Regions from separate parts of the Homo sapiens genome. Here regions 1, 2 and 3 are each linked to region 4. The links are contacts of gene promoters, found by promoter capture Hi-C in blood cells and fetal thymus (Javierre and others, 2016). All regions are on one chromosome and are shown on one strand. Each heading gives the region's core, a stretch centred on a gene start or on the middle of the fragment in contact. The rest is flanking DNA. Distances are from core to core; before and after follow the strand shown.

Evidence for each region. Contacts are between HindIII fragments. The CHiCAGO score rates a contact against its expected background, and 5 or more counts as called.
Region 1: a fragment that was not itself captured here is called in contact with the fragment with the promoter of MTMR6 in region 4 in 1 of 17 cell types (total CD8 T cells); the score reaches 5.2 in total CD8 T cells.
Region 2: a fragment that was not itself captured here is called in contact with the fragment with the promoter of MTMR6 in region 4 in 1 of 17 cell types (total CD8 T cells); the score reaches 5.6 in total CD8 T cells.
Region 3: a contact is called between a fragment that was not itself captured here and the fragment with the promoter of MTMR6 in region 4, in 1 of 17 cell types (neutrophils). The highest score is 6.1, in neutrophils.

What each region holds. Positions count from the first base shown.
Region 1 is chr13:27,171,428-27,175,651 of GRCh38, reverse strand. USP12 (ubiquitin specific peptidase 12) reads left to right here and starts at 3,841. Exons shown (of 9, transcript NM_182488.4): 1 at 3,841-4,060. The coding sequence starts at 4,013. It overlaps USP12-DT (USP12 divergent transcript), which reads right to left and starts at 3,393. Exons shown (of 2, transcript NR_046548.1): 1 at 3,280-3,393. RefSeq lists an enhancer at 3,065-3,254 and silencers at 3,315-3,954, 4,095-4,144, 4,205-4,224. The HindIII fragment of the contact is 218 bases long and covers 2,567-2,784 here.
Region 2 is chr13:24,261,143-24,265,044 of GRCh38, reverse strand. The region is part of intron 4 of SPATA13 (spermatogenesis associated 13); the gene reads right to left. Among named protein-coding and RNA genes, the nearest start is that of SPATA13-AS1, 8.7 kb to the right of the region's middle. The HindIII fragment of the contact is 2,249 bases long and covers 788-3,036 here.
Region 3 is chr13:27,246,665-27,250,878 of GRCh38, reverse strand. No RefSeq gene overlaps it. Among named protein-coding and RNA genes, the nearest start is that of RPL21, 2.8 kb to the left of the region's middle. RefSeq lists an enhancer at 1-17. The HindIII fragment of the contact is 1,725 bases long and covers 1,936-3,660 here.
Region 4 is chr13:25,285,773-25,289,749 of GRCh38, reverse strand. MTMR6 (myotubularin related protein 6) reads left to right here and starts at 2,262. Exons shown (of 14, transcript NM_004685.5): 1 at 2,262-2,526. The coding sequence starts at 2,503. RefSeq lists enhancers at 1,949-2,118, 2,219-2,558, 2,262-2,882. The HindIII fragment of the contact is 4,901 bases long and covers 1-2,923 here.

The DNA of each region.
Region 1 (4,224 bases), core at 1,426-3,925, 1.9 Mb before region 4:
GCGCACGGCCCCCCAACTTTTAAAATGTTGACTTTGAATGTCCATTCTAAACTTTCCATTTTGTGTTGAGCGCCAGGCACTATTTGAAACATGTTTTATCGTTGTAACATAATTATTACCCTTATTTTCCAGATGAGGAAAGTGAAACAAAGAAATATCGATTTGAGTATTTTTTTTTTGTAGCTTAAACCTTCATGCAAGTCCGAAAGGAGTCGTGCCTCTCAACCTCATCCTGTCAGAATCAAAATAAAATACTTTTACAAAGCTAGTGTAGTGGAGTGGACACAGGTGTGGCTCCTGGAGCTAGGTTCAAACCTTGGTTCCATTGCTTACTAGTTAGTTGTGCAACCCTGGAAAAGTTATCTCTGTGCCTTGGTTTCCTTATCTAAACGTGGGGATAATCGTAACACCTGCTTCATTAGGTTGTTGCAAGGATTAGATAAAATGTTTACACCCCTTCTTGGACCACTCCCCATCACTTTCTTTCCCAACCCATCACAAGCAAAGCTTCACGAATCATTTATGTGAGCTGGTATAAACCCACATGCCTTCAGGGAGAAAAGAGGTAGCAGAACTATATAATAAAGTGACTTGTGTTAAACTGTTGAACAGAATGAGTAAAGGAAAATTTGAGGCAGACTGTAAGGAACTGGAGAGTGTAGGATTGTGTAACAGTATGCAAATGAAAACATTATAAAATGCTGTGCTGACTAAATGGATTAAGGTTGGACATAGTTCATTTACTTGCCTGGTCCCTGAGGCATCTGGGCATATTTTGTAGTTTGCATATTCAAGAAGGCCGAAAAGGAGTCAGTTGTACACAAACTCATCTTTTGCTAGGCACAGGGAAGCTCTTTGTAAAGCTGATTACACAGCTGTGTAAAGCTGTGTTCTAAAGCCAGATTACCCTTTCCAAGCTCAGGGTGCAAAAGTGTGGAGTTTCAGCCAAACTTATTCTCCAACTGCATTACATATGGTAAAGAACACTCAGTACAACACCTAGCACATAGATTCAAGAATGTCTCTTTTATGTTTGTGTCTCTCCAATCGACCATAGGCTGTGGAGACAAGGCATTGTGAGGCTCTGTGATTAGGTTTCATGACTTTACCTGTGAATTTAGATGGCTCCAACATCAACTAGACATGACTCCAGATAATTCTATCAGAAATCCATTTTACTTTTTAAAATTTAATTTAATTTAATTTTTGAGACGGAATCTTACTCTGTCGCCCAAGCTGGAGTGCAGTAGCATGATCTCGGCTCACTGGTTTTTCCCAGGTTCATGCGACTCTCCTGCCTCAGCCTCCCTAGTAGCTTGGATTACAGGTGCTCGCCACCATGCCCAACTAATTTTTGTAGTTTTAGTAGAGATGGGCTTTCTCCATGTTGGCCAGGTTGGTCTCAAACTCCTGACCTCAAGTGATCCGCCCGCCTTGGCCTCCCAAAGTGCTGGGATTACAACAGGCGAGAGCCACTGTGCTGTATTTTTGAGATACTGTTTCAGTCTGTCGCTCAGGCTACAGTGCAGTGGTTCAATCATGGCTCACTGCAACCTGGATATCTCGGGCTTAAGTTATCCTCTTACTTCGCCTCACAAGTAGCTGGGACTATAGGTATGCGCCACCATGCACCACGTATTTATTTTTATTTTTAGTAGAGACAAGGTCTCACTATGTTGCCCAGGCTGGTCTTGAACTCCCTGGTCTCAAGGAAGTTGGAAGCCATCCTCCTGCCTCAGCCTCCCAAAGTGCTGGGATTACAGGCCTGATCCACTGTGCCCAGCCTAGAAATTTATTTATTTATTTATTTTTGAGAGAGTCTCACTCTGTCACCCAGGCTGGGGTGCAATGGCACAATCCCAGTTCACTGCAATCTCCACCTCCAGGATCCAATCTATTCTTATGCCTCAGCCTCCTGAGTAGCTGGGATTACAGGCGTACACTGCTACGCCTGGCTAATTTTTGTATTTTAGTAGAGACGGGATTTCACCACGTTGGCCAGGCTGGTCTCCAACTCCTGACCTCAAGTGATCCACCTGCCTCGGCCTCCCAAAGTGCTGGAATTACAGGTGTGAGCCACCATACTCAGCCTAGAAATTCATTTTAGAAAGGCCTTGTTCTTATATAAACTTATATGTAAAGCCAGTGGCTTTTGTTCCTGTGACATGTTCGGATTAATGGACAAGGAGGCATATGGGTGGTTAGCGGGATGGAGGCAGGTCTAAAATTCTGGCACATCAGACCTGTTTGCTGGAATAGAACAGCAAGTGGGAAGGACAGGATGACCACAGCTATTTATCAGGACGGGCACACAGATGGGCATGGTGACACTCGGACAAGGCCCAGGTAGGCCCTAGAGGTCTAAGATGTAGAAACCCTTGTCCAAACAGGGGGTAGAAAAGAGCAAGAAAGAATTCAGGTGGGTGATGCTTGCAAGTATAGAGAGGAAAGCCCCTGGCTGGGGTATCAGGGCTCTTGGCTTCCATGGAGGCAGGCGCTTGGAGATCCAGTCCGGCTACCATGGGGCTTGGCTATATTCAATCTGCATTCCCCCCCCAAGCAAGCTTATAATGGAATCACTATGGAAACAGTATTCATGTACCAGAAGTCTATTTTTCACTTAAATTTTGTTTGAATGCTTTTTGTTTTTGAGTGCTTTGAACCCTTGAGGTGAGGCATTTCTGATTTTACAGCTCTGCCTGAATTCAGATCCTCAACCCCACTGAATTAGGGGAACCCAGAAAAGTACCCCATCACGAGTTCAATCAGAAAATATCACAAGCTTTCTAACATAATAATTTATGAAGTTATTCTACTCACTTGAACTACTTTCTCAAATAGGAAAAAATAAAGCTGAGCTGCCAGGCATGAAGAACAGGGTGCAAATATGAATTTTATAAAAGGAGAAAGAGGAACTACCCATGCCAGTAGCCAGCACTGCCTAAGGATTTCTCACAGGGCATTTTTCTTGCTTGCGGGCTTCCTGTCTCTGGTAATATCATCATCACTGCTGGCTTGAGATCCTCCCTATTTTGCAGCTCAATGTGCAGATATTTAGAAGCCTATTATAAATTTATCGCCAACAGGCCAACAGGTTTCGCTCCTCTCCTTCCCCCATTACTTATCTTTCTTCTTAATTCAAAGAGTTAAACATGTGTAATTTGTTCTTTGCCTCTTCATTTTTGTTTAATTATTTTGTCTTTTTCTAAGTTGTGTTTGACTCCGGTGATTCATCCAATATACGTAAAAAGAAACAAACCAAGTGCTTGGGACGCATACCCGGGTTATCTTAACTGTGCAGAGCAGGTTTCCTCCCACTCCGCCCGTAGTTACCCAGATCATCGCCTCCGTTTTCTGTTTAGGCAGCGGGGGCTCGCCGTCCCCTCGCCCGCGGTGGGTGTCGCAGCTGGTCCCCTCCAGGGTTCTCCCAGATCGCCGCCGCCACCCCCGCGCCTCCCCGCCGCACCCCTTCCTACGCGGGGGTCTCTGGGTCCCCGGCTCTAGGACCGCAGGGACGCGGGCAGGAGGTGGCGCCCGCCTTCGGTCCTGCCCTCTGCCGCGCGCGGGGTGGGGACGGACCGGAGTTCCCCGGCTCGCGCACAAGGGCCGCGGAGGGGTTGCCGAGGGGTGGGCGGGGCTGCGCCGCCTGGCCGCGCCGCTGCCTGGCAGGCCGGGCATTAGGGCCTCGGCGGAGCCCGCTCCCCTGTGCGCTGGGCGGGGTGGGCGGAGGGCGGCTTCGCGTGCAGGCGCGGGCCCGGAGGCAGCGGCTGCGCCCTGCGCCGGGGCGGAGCCGGGGGCGGGCCGGCGGCCGGCAGGCGGGGGCTGGGGCCCGAGGCCGGGAGTGCCTGAGCGCCGGCGGCGACGACGGCAGCGGCGGCCCAGCGGGCTCGGTGGTTGGGTCCGCGGCGGCTCGGGGTCCGCCCGCGGGCTGCGGTGCGAGCGGGCGGCCCGGCTCCCCTCCTCCCCCGCCCGCCGCCGCCGCTGTGATTGGGTGGAAGATGGCGCTGGCCGGATGGAAATCCTAATGACAGTCTCCAAATTCGCCTCCATCTGTACCATGGTAGGTGGCGGCGAGCGGGCGGCCGGGGCTGCCGGGACCTCTCGGGCGGGCGGGCGGCGCTGGACCCGCCTCTCCCAGTGGCCGCTCGCGGGGCCTAGCGCCGGGGCGGGCGGGCGGGCTGGGCGGCCCGGGCGGCCCGGGCGGGGGCGGTTGGACGGCGCGCA
Region 2 (3,902 bases), core at 663-3,162, 1.0 Mb after region 4:
GCAACTGCTTTCACCTTGGAGCAATGTGGACCTGAACACACAAAACCAGCGAATATGTGCTCTCAGCGGCTTCAATGAACCCCTTCATCATTCACCCCTACTCAATATCCCACCCTCTCCAAACACAGCTCCAAACAAGATACTTTGGACCTGGGCACTGACTAGAACTTTGATTAATGCAGAAATAAATATAAAATTGTCCTTTAAAAGGTGCCAGCTTCAGCTGAAGGCCATTGTTTTCCTGTTCTCTGTAAGCACACGTGGATTTTTCATCCTTCAGGGCCTAGTACAGATTTCACTTCTTTTCTGTATTTACCTGGTTATTTTCAGATCCTTAGGACCAAGCACATTTCAAACATAACAAGAACACAACAGGGATTGGAGGAATATAACTTTTTTCTTTGTCTTAATAGAAGGCAATTATTGGGACATGGTCTTTAAAACTGCCAACAGGCATATCTTTGTGCAAATCAATTAGACAATATTGTGTTTTGTGATGGAGAAAACATACGGGAAACTGAATAGAATGGAAAGCAATCTGTGTTTTTCAGTTTGATCTCATTTGAATGCTAGCTCCACTATCTACTCATTACATCTTGCTTAGCCAAGCTAGGAAAAGTTACCGAATATTTCTAAGGCCTGACCTTGTCTGTAAGATCAGGCCAGGAATACGTACAGAGTGCTACTGGCTCTTGGTGGTGGTTCGCTAGACATTTAGCTGTCTTGCTCTCCTTCCTCTGACTTTTAATATTCTTTCTTCTTCTTTTAAAATCCAATTTCTGAAGCTTAGTAATAAGACAGACGATATTTTCAATAACTTTTACTTTTTAACTCTAGCTGTTGAGAACTGAGAATGTTTTAACTGCTAGAAGATGAAATTTCATGAGCTTGCTAAAAAAAAAGTTTAATACTTTATGTTTTTCTGAGACAAGAAATAGAACACTATATTCCTTCTAAAAAATCTCGATGATAGGCAACAATGAGGCATGAAACAACAGCTAAGATAACTGCTATGGAGCTAATACAATCTCCAAGACTTGCAGACAATATGGTTTTGGGCACTAAAGGCCATATTTGTAGTCCTTGTTCTGCACACAGAAGCCTTTCATAATTTCTAAATTCCTTCGGACTCTGTGGAATCCAGGCTGTCTCACAGCAGTCAGAAGACAGGGATTTTACCATAGGCAGTCTTAGCAGTCAGGAAAACACTTGCTGCGAGTACTGATAAGTGAATTGATTCATCTCGTTTTGTAAGTAAACACAGTTGGTCCTCCGTATCTGTGGGTTACACATCTGTGGACTCAACCAACTGCAGATTGAAAACATTTAAAAAACTGTGACTGTACTGAATATGTACAGACTTTTTTTCTTGTAACTATTCCCTAAACAATGCAGCATAACAACTATTTACATAGCATTTACATTGCATTAATATTAGGTCTTTAAGTAATCTAGAGGTGATTTAAAGTATATGGAGGATGGGCATGGGTTATATGCAATTATTAGGCCATTTTATATCAGGGACTTTTGCACAGCCTTGGAGTCTGATGCCTGAAGAGTCCTGGAACCAATCCCCCTCAGACAACCAGGGATGACTGTATAATCAACAGCCAATATTCCTTGGCATGAGTATAAAGTGAGATGTAGGGGGAGAAGGGAACGTGGCAAGGCTCACGGCATCCCCACCTAACAATCCAAGTGCTCCATCACCAATTCTCCAACCAGCTTTCCTGAGAGCTCCGCTGCTATCACGCAACAGGCACTAAGCAAGTAAATCCCAAGTTCCTATTTTCCCTCTGATTCTTTATTGAAAGAAAATATTTGAAAATCGATTTGAGTAAAATGCAGAAGCAGCAAGAGATAATTCAAAAAACAAGAGAACAAAAAGATGTTATGGGATGCTTAAAGTCATTTCAAAGGTATCACACACACCTCAACACCTGCTACGGCTTTTCTTTTTTTCCTTCCTTTTAACAAAAAATTCAGTGGAGTCTCTGGGTGATACAACGAAAAATCATTAGATAATACCTAAAATTTGCAGCCCAGAGAATCTATAAAAAAGACCCAGTCAAGTTTCTTTTTTTTTAAAATAACCTGAACGTATGTATTTTAAATTTGCTTAACTTATATTTGGATAATAAACAGTATATTATTCCATATAGACTCCAAGTGCTCTGGGACTTTACTAAGTAGACTAAATGACTTGTCTAAGCTAAGTCACTGATTAGTGCAGTTAAATCAGTAACTCAGAACTCTGGATGTAAACAGTTTCCTGCTCATCATTGCCTTTGTCCCCTGTATAGTTAATGCTTCCCTAATTAATTAGTAATAGTTACTGCACACTTACTGTGTGCCAGGTCATTCTTCCACATCTGTGGGACAGATCATATTAGTTTCTCCCATTACAGATAAAGACATGAAGACTTTGAGATTAAGTGACTTGCCCAAGGATTGGGATTACACTCTCACTTTTTGACCCAAAGGTCTGTTAATAAGAAAATTAACTTTCATAATAATTAGGACAGAATAAGGCCAGAATAACTGTATGAGTAACCTCCCTTTTGTGATGCACTTAGGCTATGAATCAAGAATTCTTACTGCCTTATTTTATTGACAGTCCTAAGAAAAAACAGAAACGTGGTGTGATCTGATCAAACTATCAGTGCATAAATTTGTTATTCCAACAAATTAGAAGTAGGATTTTAACAACCACAAAAGAGCTAAAAAAAAAAAAAGAAAAAAAACTTTGTTTTAAACAAACAAAAAAAATACAAAGAATTTGAATAAATTTCTTTACTACAAGACTTTTCAAAGAAATAAGTTTCAGTAATTTCTCATAATTCAATTAATTTTATTTAAAAAATCAAATTTGAAACAACATAAGCACTTCCTATGATTAAATTCCCCTACTTCCTAAATGTTGGGGATTAATATCAATTCTAAATCAAGAAACGGAATTTTCTGATGTGTAATCTTCCCATCTCTTTGAAAAACATTCAGTGAGAATAAACGCTGACACATTCATACTAACAAGCTTTCAGATACTGGTAATACATAGACAAAATAATTGTTAATATCATAGCCTAATAAATTGTTTTTCATTAGTCCTGAGCCTTTATGGGGTATTTTGAACTATAAAATGAGAAAACCATCAACACAGCTTAAGCAAAATAGATAAAATACCTCAATTTTAAGACAACTCCCCCAACATCCTCCCATGGCATTCTGCCCTAGCACTGAACTGCTGAACTGAAACCGGTTTTTTTTTTTAAGGGCACGAAGCTCCTCCCTGCCACTGGATCCAGTGGGTATTTTTCTCTCTACACTTTGGTGCATTTGACAGTGTGAACCACTCTCACACCTGGAAGCCCTGGCTTCCTTTGACATCTGGGACACCGCTTACCTGCCTGGCTACTTTTTTTCTATTTTCTTTGTGAATTTCTCTGCCTTCACTGGTCCCCAAATGTTGGTCCTCAGAGCATGGTTCAAGATCCTCTTCTCATTTTTACCCCCACTCATATCACACTCCTTCCTAGAGTTTTAAGAACCACTTTGCTGATGACTCCCAAATCTTCATCTCTAACTTTGGGTCCCCTTCCTCAAAATCAGAGCTTCACAATCAAGGATATGGTGATGTCATCTTCATCGAGCTGCCCATAGGTCGCTCTGACTTGACCTGCCTGGAATGGAGTAAGCTCCCCAATTGACCAACATGCTCTTCTCCTAGGCTCCTTGTCAGCCAGGCATCAGAGGCAGCACGGATGGCTGCTCCCTGGCCCCAAACATCCAGACAATTACCTCGACCTCTCGGTTCTTCATATCTCCAGTGCCACTATCATTTTCCGAGGCAACAGACTCCCGAGGTCTCCAGTCCTCCACGATCCAGCCAATGATCTCTCTGA
Region 3 (4,214 bases), core at 1,549-4,048, 2.0 Mb before region 4:
AGAATAAATACCTTATGGGATGTTAGGATGTAGTATTATACGCCAATAAAAGAAGACTGAACTCAGAAATGTGATGAGGCAAAAAGAGAAAGATGTAGAAAAATAAATAGTATGACAATTCATATACATTCAACTCTAAAACTTGTAAAACAATGCTATATATTGCTTAGTTATGCATACATATGTAGTTAAAGAAGTCAAGAAATACAAGAGAATGAAAATCAAGTTGAGAAAAGCAGTCATATCTGGTAAGGAGGGGACAATAAAGGGAGGCTTTAACTGTATTGACCATTATTAAACCGGGTGTTAAATATATGGGTGGCCATTGTTTTATTCACTACACCTTTAAAAATAGATATTATTTTCTTAATGTAGTTTATTTAAATTGAGATAATGCCATATACCCAGCATCCAGTTTCCCCTATTATTAACATCTCATGCTAATATGGTACATTTGTTGCAATTAATGAACCAATATTTTACACTGTTATTAACTAAGGTTCACATTTTATTCAGATTTCCTTCGGTTTTACCTAATACCCTTTTTCTGTTCCAGGATTCCATCCAGAATACCACATTACATTTAGTTATGATGTCTCCTTATATGCCTCTTGTGGCTGTGGCAGTTTCTCAAACTTTCCTTACTTTTGGTGACCTTGAGAGTTTTGAGGAGTACTGGTCATGTATTTTGTAGGATGTCCTAATCATGGAATTTGTCTCATGTTTTTCTCATGATTGTATGTATTTTTAGGATGCATTTTTAAAAAGTCAGCTAAGTTAACAAAATCCCTTATCAGACTGAATATAAATAATATCGTCCAGTCGCTTTTGAAATTTGCATGTCTTCGACTCACTCTCCTGATGCACCTGAAAGTTGTAATTTCTAAGAACTGCGTCAGCACCATTTTTTAAATGTGTACATTCTGTGACCATCGTCATCAGCACTTAACATCATTTGCTGAAGAACTTGAGGAGGAATAGGATTTGGTATTGATTCCTTCAATACGTTGACTCCTCCAGACTTTCACTGTAACCATTAGCCCTTGGCTTCTAGATTGTCTTTAACTTAATTTTCTGTAGTTCATTATTACAGTCACTCTGTTAGCACTCACTTCCTCAGGTCACTTTTCCTTTCCCATTACTTTCTTTCTTTCTTTGAGAGGGAATTTTGTTCTTGTTGCCCAGGCTGGAGTGCAGTGGCGCGACATCGACTCACCACAACCTCTGCCTCCCGGGTTCAAGCGATTCTCTTGCCTCAGGCTCACGAGGAGTAGCTGGGATTACAGGCGCCCGCCACCACACCTGGCTGATTTTTTTGTTTTTAGTAGCGACGAGGTTTCACCATGTTGGCCAGGCTGGTCTCCAACTCCTGACCTCAGGTGATCCACCCGCCTCCACCTCCCAAAGTGCTGGGATTATAGGCGTGAGCCACCGCGCCTGGCCCCCATCACTTTCTTAGCACATACCGAACCTTGGATAAATGCAACCGTGACAGTACCTCCACAGCTGAGCACCGTTGAAGAAAATCTTGTAATCTGGTGTGATGACAAATCAGAAACTAGTCATCCATGCACTATATTTTTTTGCACTTGGAAATATTTTTTTGAGCCCATAGAGTGTTTTAAAAATTAACATATCAAAAAAAAAAGATTTCTGGCTTCCCTTGAGAAATCAGGAGATCTGGCAGCATAGAGCTGATAGTCTTGATGGCCACTCCACTGGCTTCCCCTTTAGATGGGGCATTCATTCTTGAGTTCCTTCATCACTCAGCCTGCTTCAGTCATTTACCTGCCTGGCTCCTGTTGGCATTTGTGTTTTTAGCCTCTCCCATAAATTCACGACCAACCCTTAACAAATGGGTACTGTACTGTTTAGCATCCCCACTACAGTTCCCCAGTTAATTTGCTTACCTGCTGTCAAAAAAAAAATTAAGCTTTTACATAATTAAAGTTAGTTTTATTCAGAAGTCTCACTGAGGACTGTAGACCAAGGTTTATACCCTGAGGGCAGTTCTTTCACAGGGCTCCAAAGTGGTCCCTCAGCCCATTGCTTCTATGTAGGTTGTGGGGGTTCTGTATGTGTGAAATCTCATTAAAGTTTGGGTGTAAGAGTACATCAGTTTATAGATTACTAAAGTAATTTGGTTATAGATTGTAGAAGCATAATCACTAACCCTGTCAGACATCTTCATGTAGGAAAAGGCAAGGTCAAGTTCATTTACTGTTTCAGGAACGTTGTAACTCAGGCGAGTGACACGGGGGGCCGTGTGCTCTATCCTGTTTTAAGATTCTTCCTGAGGAGCTGCATTTCATCACAGTCAGGGGTTCAAGCAGAAATAAGCAAACCTGGCTTAACATTTTCTATTTTGTCTCACATTATTCTATTTAAAGATTATTTCATGTCATTTCTTTGATTATCAAACCTTCCTTTCTCCCACCTTTCTTTCAGCTGATGACTGCCTCTTTTTTTGAGACTCTCTTAGTCCCCAGGCTGGAGTGCAGTGGCATGATCTCGGCTCACTGCAACCTCCACCTCCTGGGTTCAAGCAATTCTCATGCCTCAGCCTCCCAAGTAGCTGGGATTATAGGCGTGTGCCACCACACCCGGCTAATTTTATTATTTTTGGTAGAAACAGGGTTTCGCCATGTTGGCCAGGCTGGTCTTGGACTCCTGACCTCAAGTGATCCACCTGTCTCAGCCTCTCAAAGTGCTGGGATTACAGGTGTGAGCCACCACGCCCAGCCAACTGCCTCATTTTTATCAGTGTACAAACATGCTCCCAGCCAACTCCATCATTTTTATCCATGTACAAACAGGCTCTGGTGTTCCCCACTAAAACCCGCAACTCTCTTCTTTCTGATTCTGCTTGATCTCATATTCCTTTATAACTACTGCCCCATATGTTCATTTTTCTTCTGTCAAATGTAAAAAAAAAGGAGTCATGAAATTTTTGGTTTTGTACATCAAAAATTGTGAAAGTTCAGCAGTGTCATACAGTTTAATACATAAACACTATTATCTCTTCCTCATCTTTCATTCAGCTTCAGTTTCATTTGACTTCTGTTCTAGTCATGTCATTAAAGCTGCTCTTGTCAGGGCATCAACTGCTTATATGTTGCCAAAGCCAAAAGACATTCCCTGTTCTTTCCTTTCTTGATCTCCGCAAAGCACTGGACTCTGTTGGCCAGCTCTTCCTCCATGAAACACTACCCTTCCTCACCACTCCACAGTCTGATTTGCTGATTTTCCCTCCTCTCCCTGTCCTATAAAGACTACATTTCCCTGGGTCTTGGAGCTAGGCCCCTGCTCTTCTCTTTCTGTACTGCCTTCCTGGTTAATTCCATTTACTCCTATAATTTTAAATTTCATCTCTGTGTTGCTTACTACCAGATTGATTTATGTGATTCCAGCCTTTCCTCAAGATTGCTATTCAACTTGATATCTATTCTTGGATACTCTTTAGCATCTCAACATGTCCAAATCTTTTATTTTTCTTTTCTTTTTTTTTAACTGCTCCTTGTGGAGCAGGGCTATCCCATAGGCAGCGTGCCTAGAGTAGCCAAAATTAATTGTATGTGGGTACTCTACTGTTTAACATCCCCACTACAGTTCCCCAGTTAATTTGCTTACCTTCTGTCAACTTAAAAAAAAAATCAAGCTTTTACATAATTAGTTTTATTTAGAAGTCTCACTGAGGACTATAGACCAACGTTTATACCCTTGGTATAACCTTATGGGATGTGTTGTAAGTTTTTATGGGATGTTTTTAAGTTTTAGATATACTTTTTTTTTTTTTCTTTTGGAGACAGGGTCTTGCTCTCTTGCCCAGGCTGGAGTGCAGGAACATGATCATGGCTCACTGCAGCCTCAACCTCCTGGGCTCAAGCCATCCTCCTGCCTCAGCCACTGATGTAGCTGGCATCACAGGCATGCACCACCACACCTGGCTAATTTGTAAAAATTCTTTTGTAGATATGGAGTCTCCTTTTGTTGCCCAGGCTGGCCTTGAACTCCTGAGCTCAGGCAATCCTCCCACATTGGCATCCCAAAGAGCTGGGATTGCAGGCGTGAACCCCTATGCCTAGCTCATAAAACTTTTTATTTTCTGCCAGATGCAGTGGCTCACACCTGTAATCCCAGCAGTTTGGGAGGCCGGGGCAGGCAGAGTGCTTGAGCACAGGAGTTCGAGACCAGTCTGGGCAAGATGGTGAAAC
Region 4 (3,977 bases), core at 1,013-3,512:
AGCACAAGTAACCAACACATTTCTCAGGCCCATGGTGAGGAGAGTCCCAGGATAATATCCATTCAGTAGGCTCAGAGAACACAAGTGCAAACTGGAGCAAAAGGAGAAAAGGCTCCTAGAAGCATCTGGAGACCTCTAAAGAGATGTCTCGAGGAAAGATAATGGAACTGAGTGATTGCCAGATTTAACCATAAGGAATATTCTATCTAGTGCAAGAGTATTCAACTCAAGAGTCAAAGAAACGTCATTTAATATTTTATCTGTTATTTTACTTTCTTTCTGTAAAGCTAGGTAATTTTCTAGCCTATCATATTAACATAAATAGAACTTTAATATGGATTTTGAGAAGCAAATCAATGTAAAACAGTTGTTAAGAATACAGACTCTGAAGTCAGCCTGTCTGGCTTTATAACATGGATCTTGGCTTTATCTGCTATGTGATATTGGGCAAGTTACTTCACTTCATTGTGTCTCGCTTGTCTCATCTCTAAAATAAAGAAAGCAATAGCATTTTCCTCAGAATACCCGTAAAGCACTCAGTACATTTGGTCACCTGACATCATTATGATTGCCTCTCTGTGAGAATTGGTAAAGAGAGGACACAGGAAGTGAGGAGATGAGAAGAGGGAGGATAATCTGTAGGGGAATGGGGAAGGAGGAAGTTGTAAATTGGGAGGAAAATGATATAAAAAGTTTTGTTAAGAAAGTCTTGCTGTATGCTATACAATTCACCTCTTTCTGTTTTCTCAAAAAGCAATCCTCAGTAAAGACCTACATTACTTTTCTCTCTCTCTATATATATATATATGTGTATATATATATATATGTATATATATATATATATATATGTGTATATATATATATATATATATTTTTTTTTTTTTCTGAGCAGGATTTGTGGGGTTTTTTTTCGGGGGGAGGGGGTGGATGTGATACTGTACTAAGGTTGGTTTCTAGGTGGTTTAATGTAACTCTTATTACATATTTAGCTTAGAGGAGTCAGCAACTCCACCGCAAAGGCTGTTGTGTTTAATAACCATCTCCATTGCTTTGGCAATCTGTCTGAAACATCGTAGGCACTCAAAACAAAACAAACCAAGACAACTTGAACAAAATGAAACAAATAAGTGAAACAAAATTTTTAATTATAAAAGAAAATTTAGATGTTAGGCTTTTCTAACACCAATCACAGTATGAAAGATGAAGATTACAAACCTTAACCGGCTTAGTACAGAATACTTACAAAACGTAGAGCAGAGTTTCTCGGACTCTAACTCCTGACCTCAAGTGATCCGCCCGCCTCAGCCTCCCAAAGTTCTGGGATTACAGGCGTGAACCACCGCGCCTGGCATAGAGCAGGGTTTCTCAACCTCTGCACTGTTGTCATCTGCCGGATAATTCCCTGTAGTTGGGGGGTTGGTCTGGTGCCTAGTAGGGTGTTCAGCAGCCGACTTGTGACTTGGCCTCCACCCACCAGTTGCCCCCCGCCGCCACCCCCCCACCACCACCATTTGAGACAACCAAAAATATCTCCAGATGTTACCAAATGTCCCCCGGGGAGAAAACTCACTCCAGGCTGAGAAGTACCACATTAGACGTGTTCTAACAAAAATTACCTGTAACCCTCACCTAGAAATGTAAACTTTTTGTTTACATAAATAAAAATTACAGAGCACGGCTACATTGAACTTATTGTTCCATAGTCAGTTTTTTCTTCACTCAGTAATGCAGCATTAACATTTTCGTTATGTGATATCCCTCTACAGGATGAGTTTTAATGGATGCTGGTGCTAACATCGTATGAAATTGAGGTAGGAGGCGGGACTCTGACACCAGACCAGATTGAGGACTAGCTAATCATCATACTTTACATAAGGAATCCGTAGGATTGGAGAGTTGATTGTTTCAAATAAGGCTGGTTTCCTTATTTGGTTATTTCCTTAGAATAATAACTCCAAATCTGATTATTTCCTTAGAATACATTCTTATGAGTAGAACTGCAGCTCAAACTAAATTTGGTGCTGTCCAGTGGTATGGCGATGGACTTCAGAACATCCTCCACTCTTGCCCTCACCCCACAAGAACCCTTTACTCGGGATCCATTCTCACGCAGTCTTCCTCCCCGACCGCCCCGCGCGTCCGCTCGGCGGGATGACAAAGACCGCCTCGGGTGGGGTGGTGAGCAGTACCGGCCTCCTCCAGCAGGGGGCGCTGTGGGATCCGCCGCTGTCCGGGACGAACCAGCAAGCCGCTCTCGGTCCACACACGCTCTGTCTGCCTGCCCCGAGTCCCCCGGGAGGCCGCGGGGTTTGGGGAAGTGTTTCTAGGAGACGGCGCTCACCGGCTGCACCTGCGCCGTTGACGCCACCGGGGCCGGCAGACAGACCCGCGGCGCTGGCTGGTGGAGGGAGTTCCCGCTTGCTCTCTGTCGCTGTCACCGCCCTGTTTCTGTAGCCGTATGGTACGCCTGTGAGACCGGCTGCCGGCTGACGTCTCCTTGCGATGGAGCATATCCGGACGACCAAGGTAGTCGGGCGCGGGATCGCCAGTCTTCAGGGGCCCTGCTCTGACCCGGCTGAGGCAGGAGGAGACGAAGGCTCTGCTGGCCTGACTGGGGCTGGGAGCCGGCCCGGCGGAGACCCGGCCCGGGGCGGGAGGGTCTGGCCAGGCCTGGTCTGGGAGGGCAGGGTTAGCTTGGGCCAAGCGGGGTGCAGAGGCCTCCTGTACCTACAGGAGCAGGGGTCCCACTTTCAGCATCTTGGAGTGCGTAGAGATAAGTCTGGGAAAACTGGTCACCGCCCTCCTAGCTCTACGTTTTCTCGGGCAAAATTGGGGCTCCTTTAACTTTGGAGTCTTTCAGCCTTTCGTTGCCTCATCAACCGGAAAACCGTCTTCAAATTAACATTATGATGCTGTGTAAGCTTGTCCTTGCTCACATTTCATTGTCCCGTGTCACAGATTCACAGTACGAGTTTTGGAGGAACCGAGATCAGCACTCCGCTCCACCTCCCTTTGCTGTCTCGGTCTCCAGTCTTTCGCATCCGGTGTTTCCGTGTCTGTGCTTCATACTTCAGGCATTGTCCTGTGTCAGTAGTCAAGAGTTCTGGAGAAGGGAAAAATGTTATTCCATATTTTAAAAGGTCGGATGCAGCTTTATTCGATTGACCTTATTGCACTCCATGCTTAATTTTTGTGTGTGGAAGACCTTCATTTTGAGAACGAACAAATATTTTTATTTCGTTACAAATTTAAAAACGGAAGGAAATGACATCAGAATGTTACCAAATTACGTTTCCAACGACATTTAAGTTTAACTTTGAGAGGGAGAAAAACATAAATCGAGACGAGAAGAATAACATTTTAAAATCACTGCGAGCCCACTGCAAGGCAGCCTCTTGACGTTTTGGCAAAGCTGAAGCCCTTTAGTTGCTGCCCATCTTAAAATTACGGCTCATTTAGGGAACCACAGATGTTCGTTATCTTCATTGTTCCAAGAAGAATTTGTGTTTTTAAAAATTTTTTAAATGTTTCACAAACCTTTTAAAGGTATACATAAATTTTTATTGGAGCTTGTCTTTAACATTGTGCATACCGTATCTAGTAAAATTGAAGATTCTGAAAACTAACCCCTTAACATTTTTTTTTAAGAGAAGAAAGATAAAATAACTTGAGAATTCAAGTTGTGGGTACTTAAATTTTGAAAATGGAAGGGTGCTTAAGTCTATAACCAAACTCGTAGAAGGTGCACAGAGGAAAAGAGGACTAGAGTGGACATTGGATCAGGTTCTTGTATTGGTTCCAGATATGTATTATGTAGTAGCTAAGTGCACGTGACTTCCTTCTGCATCAGTTCGAAGCTCCTCTATTTTTCATATGCTTTCTACGGTGCATAGCACACAATCGAAAACCGGTAAAAGGCTGGGCACGGTGGCTCACGCCTGTAATCCCAGCACTGTGGGAGGCCGAGGTGGGCGGAT